Regions from separate parts of the Homo sapiens genome. Here region 1 is linked to region 2. The links are contacts of gene promoters, found by promoter capture Hi-C in blood cells and fetal thymus (Javierre and others, 2016). All regions are on one chromosome and are shown on one strand. Each heading gives the region's core, a stretch centred on a gene start or on the middle of the fragment in contact. The rest is flanking DNA. Distances are from core to core; before and after follow the strand shown.

Region 1 (3,388 bases), core at 40-2,539, 640 kb after region 2:
GGTCAATTCCCAGGACCCCAAGCAGGAAATGCCCAAGTGAGTCAGGTCCAAGTCCCTCCATGTGCTTGAAACCAAACCCCAATCTTGTAAAAAGATTCTCTGGGCCACACTAAGTTAGTGAAATCTGGACCAGAAGGGTAAACCACATTTGGCTGCCTGTGCTAAGAAAGAGATCAGCAGCTTTCACAGCAGGAGCAGGGGTGACTTCACTTTGGCCGGGCCGTGTGCATCACCGCCTTCAGCTGCTCTTGCTAATTTCTTGGCAGAGGAAATCCACCAGCAGGCGGAGAAAGGGAAAGGTGAAAGAGAGACAGGAGATTTTGGCAGGACCGTAGGAGGGCATGATAGGTGGTGAGAAAGCCCAGGCTCCAAATTGCTGAGTCCCCCGCAGTCTTACCTCCCTGTTAAGGAATGACTGGCTCTGAAACTCCTGCACCTTCTTCAGCTTGATGCACAGAGGCAAGTTCAGAGCTAGGAAGCCATGGATTGAATTTTTTTTAGGCAAAAGTTAAGAAAAGAGCTAGTCAGGCTGTCCAATAGTAAATAAGTGTGTCATAGGCAGAGCCACCGTGGTCAGACAGTTGGCAGGGGTGTAGAGCCTGTGTACCCAGTCAGCCGTGCCTCCAAACCCCAGGTGCAACTCTGGCTAGATAGGTAAGAATCACAATCCCCACTGTCTCTGCTTCCTGCCACATGCTGGACACTTAAACACAGCACAGGCTCTGGGCCTCTACTTTCCCATCTGTAAACAGGGGTGAAAACAGCACGTGGGTCCCAGGCAGGGAAGAATGAAAGCAGAGAGCAAGTGCCCAGTCCACACCTCTGTTACTGTTACCATCCTCACTTTGCCCCGTCCTCGCACCTGGGTGAGGAGGTAGCCACACAAATCTGGGCTTTCAGTTCCAGACGAGGACGCCTGGGCCCCAGCAGAGTTGACAGCATGCAGCCACACACTAGAAAGTGACGGAGCTGGGATCCTGAAAGACTCCAAACCCTTGCCTTTCTTGTTTCCTGATTTTACCCCACCTGCTAGACAGCGCTGCTGCCCAAAAGGACTTTCTGCATTGATGGAAATGTCCTACGACCATGCTGTCTAGTACAGAGCCACCACACATGTGGCTATTTGCATTTCAATTAAAATTAAATACAATTAAATATCCTTTTTCCGTTGTCTTGCTATCCACGACTGAGCACTTGAAATGTGGTGTGACAGTGGAACAGAAATGTTTAATTTTATTTAACCTTAATTTTCATTAATGTAGATTTAGACAGCCACAAGTGGCTACCGTGTTGGACAGCGAAGGGTTAGAGGGAAGAAAACGAGACCCTGTCCACTGTGTGGGACCGTGGGAAACAGCTCTGCTCCACGTCTGCCGATGAGCCGTGCATGAGAATGACCTGTCCTGGCAAACCCGGGTGGCATGAAGCAGCCTGGCCCAGGGCCTTGGAGCTCCCTGACCTGGAAGGAATGGGGCGCTCTGGCCACATGCACTCTTGGCTCACTCAGCCTGGGGGTTATGACTCCCATGCCTCACCTTAGCCGCCACGCTCTCTGCAGAGCACACAGAAAGCCCATTCCCACACAGCTGTCTCTCCGTGTCACAGAGCAAGTAGGTATGATCAATGGGCATGGGGTGCCACAGGTCTCACTGCTGGAAGGGATTCCTCATGGGTCACCTGCCTCCCTCCACCCTGGCCTCTGAGGATGAGCAGGGTCTGACCTGCTCACTGCCTGGGCATCTCTCTGTCCTGGCCCCCACATAGGACTGGGCCCAGTGGAGGGGTGGGAAAGGCTCTTGAACGAAGGAGTTGAAAAGTTACTCCCACACACAGCACTTGGGCGAGAATGTGCAGGCAACTGGAAAGGCTGAAGCTCACACACAGCGTCTTGGGAGAGATCCAGGGTTCCTCGAAGGGAGGCCCATTGGCAGCCTGGGGCACCCGGTACTGGGACAAAGTGCAGATTTTAGGACTCCAGCCCCACCAGGCTGGTTCTCAGGGTGCAGGGCCCTGGAGGGTCTATGGACAAGTGGTTTGGAGACTTGTCAGATCCCAAATACCATTATGGATGGCCACACTAACGCCCTCACGCTCAGCTCTTAGGAAGCCACAGCTGGGACCCCACGTCTCCTTACTGAAGAGGCTGACAGTTCTTGAAGGTGGAGGGGACTCAGCAGCAACACTAAACAGGCTGGGATGCAAATACCTGGTAGCAGTTTAGAAGAAAAGGCTACCTGCCACTTGGTCCCCTGTCCCTTTCTGCATCCTCGGCGTGCACAGGCACGCATTCTCAGTACACAGGCTCACATGGCCGTTCCTTGGAGATGGGGCTGAGCAGGATCTGACTTCTGTGTCTCCATCTTCTGGCTTTTCTGTTGAGGGGTGGGCACTGAGAACTCATTGTTTGCCACCATGCTAGTGCGTGCTGCAGAGGCCTCGGTTAATCCCTAGAGCGGTGGCTCCCAAACTCTACTGCATGTAGGATCACCTGGGATCACTGAAAACAGATGCTGGCTCCTGCCCCCAGACAGTCTGATTTAATTGGTGTGGGGTGTGACCTGGGCACCGGGCGCCTTAAAGCTCTCCAAGTGATTCTACCACACAGCCAAGTCTACATACCACTTGGCCTTGTGGCATCACTTGTGGGAGGCAGACCTCCCTACACCTGTCGCCCGTGGGCCAGCTGAGGAGACAAACCTGCCCAAGGTCATACCCTGAGCCAACACTGAAGTTGGTGGAGTCTGATCATAGGTTTGTGCTCCTGCTATTATAATGCAAGGAACTCACAGCCCATGGATAATTGAAAAACAAAGCAAAGCACAAAATCCTTTTCCTCATCACACTCTCAGACACTGGGGCAAGACGTTTCAGGCCATTCATAAAACAGACGTAAACCAATGGGGCCAAAAAGCTGCTGGATTTTTCACACACAGGGAAAGCTCACTGAAAAAACACCAGTAAATACGGAGGCTGTAATGCAACCCCAGGACTGATGGATTGCTCATAACATCCCCGGGAGTTAATTAGAACAGCCCTGAACTCAGTTCTGTGTCGGTGCTCCTTGCCATTAATGATTCAGGTAAAGAAGGAAGTAAAATAATAGGGCAGGGAAGGAAATTAATTGAACTAAGCTTTTTAAAAATATTTCTGATGCATCAAATTCTAATGAAAGATTAACACACACAATGGAAATATTAAAAGGCACTTACAGAGGCCCCCAAAACACAGAGAAAGAAACCTGTCAAGGGCGAGGGAGCTGATTAAATCTTTCAGATAAGAAAATTGGTAAGGGATGTGAGGCATTTACTCACAGTTGTGAATTTTCATCAGGAAAACAGCCCCTGGTTACTCACCCAGCTGCTCACACTGGGACAGCCTTCCTGGAGGG
Region 2 (3,289 bases), core at 586-3,085:
GGTGGTTTTCTGGTCAGTAAGACACTGCCTTGCATTTGCTCACAAAGGACTATGGGTTTTGTGAGATTAAACCACAGACAACGAAAGTACTTTGGACCTTATGAAGCCCTGTGCAAATGTCAGATGTCTTATGGAAGTGTAGGGTAAATTCTGTTGCAGCAAGCTACAGTGAATGAGGACACTGGTGACTTTTGACCATATTTATTTTCTTTAGCAATAAATTGTGTAACTCTAATCTACACAAAGGAATCAACAGAAGTATAAGTGGCAAATTAGAAGGTTAAAAAAACTCTGTAACTATATATTTTTTCTCAGCTTTTTAAAACAAGATTAACACTGTATGGTTGGGTTTGTAACATAGATAATAAGGGTAATAATAACACAAAACAGAGATGAGGGACAAGTTAAAAATAAAGGAATTAATGTTATACGAGAAAATAGCTACTTTCTACAAAATAAGGCAGTATAGAAGAAACAAAAAGATGTGACAGGTGGGCGCAGTGACTCATGCTTTTACATAATCCTAACGCTTTGGGAGGTCGAAGGGGGAAGATCGCTTGAGCCCAGGAGTTCAAGACCAGCCTAGGCAACATGGAGAGACCTTGTCTCCACAAAAAAAAAAAATTAGCTGGGCGTAGTCGCACACATCTGTGTTGCCTACTACTTGGGAGGCTGACGGGGGTGGATCGCTTGAGCTGGGGTTGTCAAGGCTTCAGTGTGCTATGATTGCGCCATTGCACTCCAGCCTGGGTGACACAAGACCCTGTATCAAAAAACAACCAAAAAAAAAAAAAAAGTGACATATAGAAAAGAAATAGCAAAATGGTCGGTGTACATGAACTCACAACATGTTGGGCCTGGGTGGTTGACACATTAAATGTCTGGCCAATTGAGCAAGACAGCCATTGATTGCCCCATTCTACATCCACAGAAGCAGAACCAGACAGGAAGTGATGAGATTTGCACGTGGGTCACATAGCTGACCTGTGGCAGAGGTGGCGTCTCAGCTACTGGCCGTTAGCTGTGCCTTCTGTTTGTGGCATAACACCATATTGCCTTAATGCCCTCGAAGTTTTATTTGTCTAGTTTGTTGTTATTGACATTGGAGGACAAGTCCTTTTTTTTTTTTTGAGACAAGAGTCTCTCTCTCTCTCTCCCCCAGACGGGAGTGCAGTGGCGCCATCTCCACTCACTGCAACCTCCGCCTCCAGGGTTCAAGCAATTCTCTGCCTCAGCCTCCCAAGCAGCTAGGATTACAGGCGCCCGCCACCACGCCCGGCTAATATATTTGTATTTTTAGTAGAGACGAGGTTTCACCATGTTGGCCAGGCTGGTCTTGAACGCCTGGTCTCATGTAATCTGCCCGCCTTGGCCTCCCAACGTGCTGGGATTACAGGCTTGAGCCACCGCGCCCGGCCGTGTTTTTTTTTTCTTCAGTTAAGTTGGGATAAAAAACGGCACCTACGTGCTTCGGGGCCTGTAGTGAGAATGGTGGACACGATTATTGTCGTTACGGCTCCTAAAACCCAGCGCGGCGAGAGCAGACTACAGCGGTGTCAAGGTTCCAAGTATTCCCCGCGGGCCTTATCCCAAGGGAGCAGCTTCTCCACGCCCCGCGACGGCGCCTGCGCAGACTCCGTGAGCGGGGTCGTGACCGGTGGGGCCAAGACTGGGCTGCGGGCGGGGAAGGCTTCCGTGCATTTACGTAGGGTGCAGGGCGTGGCCCGTTGGGGGCGGGGATTTGGGCGGTGTCGGTGCCCGCCCGGACTCCGTGAGCGGTGGGCGGAGCTGCGTGCTCTGGGGTGTGAGGTGGGGCGGACCCCGCGGCGGCGGCGCGGCTGACGTGGAGCGTCCGGGTTAGCGGGTGCGGCGAGCTGCGGGATTGGGGAGCAACGGGCCGGGCCGGGCCTTCGGGCCCGAGGCGGCGGCGGCGGTATAAAGCCGGCGACTGGGAGCATGTAATGTCGGAATGCGGAGGCCGCGGCGGCGGCAGCAGCAGCAGCGAGGACGCCGAGGACGAGGGAGGGGGCGGCGGCGGCCCCGCGGGCTCAGACTGCCTCAGCTCGAGCCCGACCCTGGCCACAGCGTCCTCGGCGGGCCGGCTCCGTCGCGGGCTGCGTGGCGCCTTCCTCATGGCGCGCCAGCGGCCGGAGCTGCTCTGCGGGGCCGTGGCGCTCGGCTGCGCGCTGCTCCTCGCCCTCAAGTTCACCTGCAGGTGAGGCGGCCCGGACCCTGGGGCCCCGCTAGGGCGCTCCCCTTGCTCTGCCGCCTGGAGCCTGCAGGGCCGGGTCGCAGCGGCCTCAGCCGGGGAAGTCGGGCCTGACCTTGCCCAGGACGGCTGACCCCTCCCGGAACCTGCGGCCACGGCTTCCCACCTTCTCCTCGCCCCGGCCCGCCCGCGGACATTATGGCGAGGCTTCCGGGTGGAGCCCTGCGCCCTATCGTCCCGCTTTAGTGCCGAGGGAGGCGGGTCGGGGGTGCTCCTCACCTGTTGGAGTCACTAGGGGTGGACCTGTCACTTCGGCCCGGGCTGTAGGACCCTCATTTCTCACCGATTTCATTCCCCTTAAGCTTCAGGTGTAGTGATCCACAACCTTGCGAGAGTTCCAGACCCCTTTTAGAATTCCCGCACTCATTGATCTAACGATTATTTTTATTTTGAGACGGAGTCACGCATTGTGTCCCAGGCAGGAGTGCAGTGGCGCGATCTCGGCTCACTGAAACCTCCGCCTCCCGGGTTCAAGGGGTTCTTCTGCCTCAGCTCCTGAGTAGCTCGGATTACAGGCGCGCGCCACCACGCCTGGCTAATTTTTGTATTTTTAGTAGAGACAGAGTTTCACCACGTTGGCCAGGCTGGTCTCGAACTCCTGACCTCACGTGATCCACCCGTCTCGGCCTCCCAAAGTGCTGGGATTACAGGCGAGAGCCCCGCACCCGGCCTGATCTAACGATTATTTATCTGCACCTACTATGTGCCGGACGCTCGTCCGGGTGAACTTTTTGCTCCCTTGAGTGGATGGGACAGTGAACAAGTAAATATAATTTTTTAAAGCTTCAGTGCTATGCAGGGCATAGAAACGATGGCGGTGGGGAAAGACTTCCTAAGGAAGTGACATTTGAAGCTTATACAAAAAGGAGAAGGGACCAGCGCTGGGAAGATCCCGGGGGAGCGTGTCCACGGTAGAGCGAACAGCAAATGCAGAGTTTCTGAGGCTGGGCAAGCTTGGTGTTTCCCTGGAATTGATAAAAAGGCCTGACAGTAGGCTGGGGTGTAGGGGGTAGGAACATG

The links. Contacts are between HindIII fragments. The CHiCAGO score rates a contact against its expected background, and 5 or more counts as called.
Region 1: a fragment that was not itself captured here is called in contact with the fragment with the promoter of TXNDC11 in region 2 in 1 of 17 cell types (fetal thymus); the score reaches 5.1 in fetal thymus.

What each region holds. Positions count from the first base shown.
Region 1 is chr16:11,097,216-11,100,603 of GRCh38, reverse strand. The region is part of intron 19 of CLEC16A (C-type lectin domain containing 16A); the gene reads right to left. Among named protein-coding and RNA genes, the nearest start is that of CLEC16A, 150 kb to the right of the region's middle. RefSeq lists an enhancer at 1-54. The HindIII fragment of the contact is 3,688 bases long and covers 1-3,133 here.
Region 2 is chr16:11,741,403-11,744,691 of GRCh38, reverse strand. It overlaps TXNDC11 (thioredoxin domain containing 11), which reads left to right and starts at 1,835. Exons shown (of 12, transcript NM_015914.7): 1 at 1,835-2,215. The coding sequence starts at 1,962. It overlaps TXNDC11-AS1 (TXNDC11 antisense RNA 1), which reads right to left and starts at 1,678. Exons shown (of 1, transcript NR_186412.1): 1 at 186-1,678. RefSeq lists silencers at 1,333-1,855, 1,718-2,387. The HindIII fragment of the contact is 4,507 bases long and covers 1-2,573 here.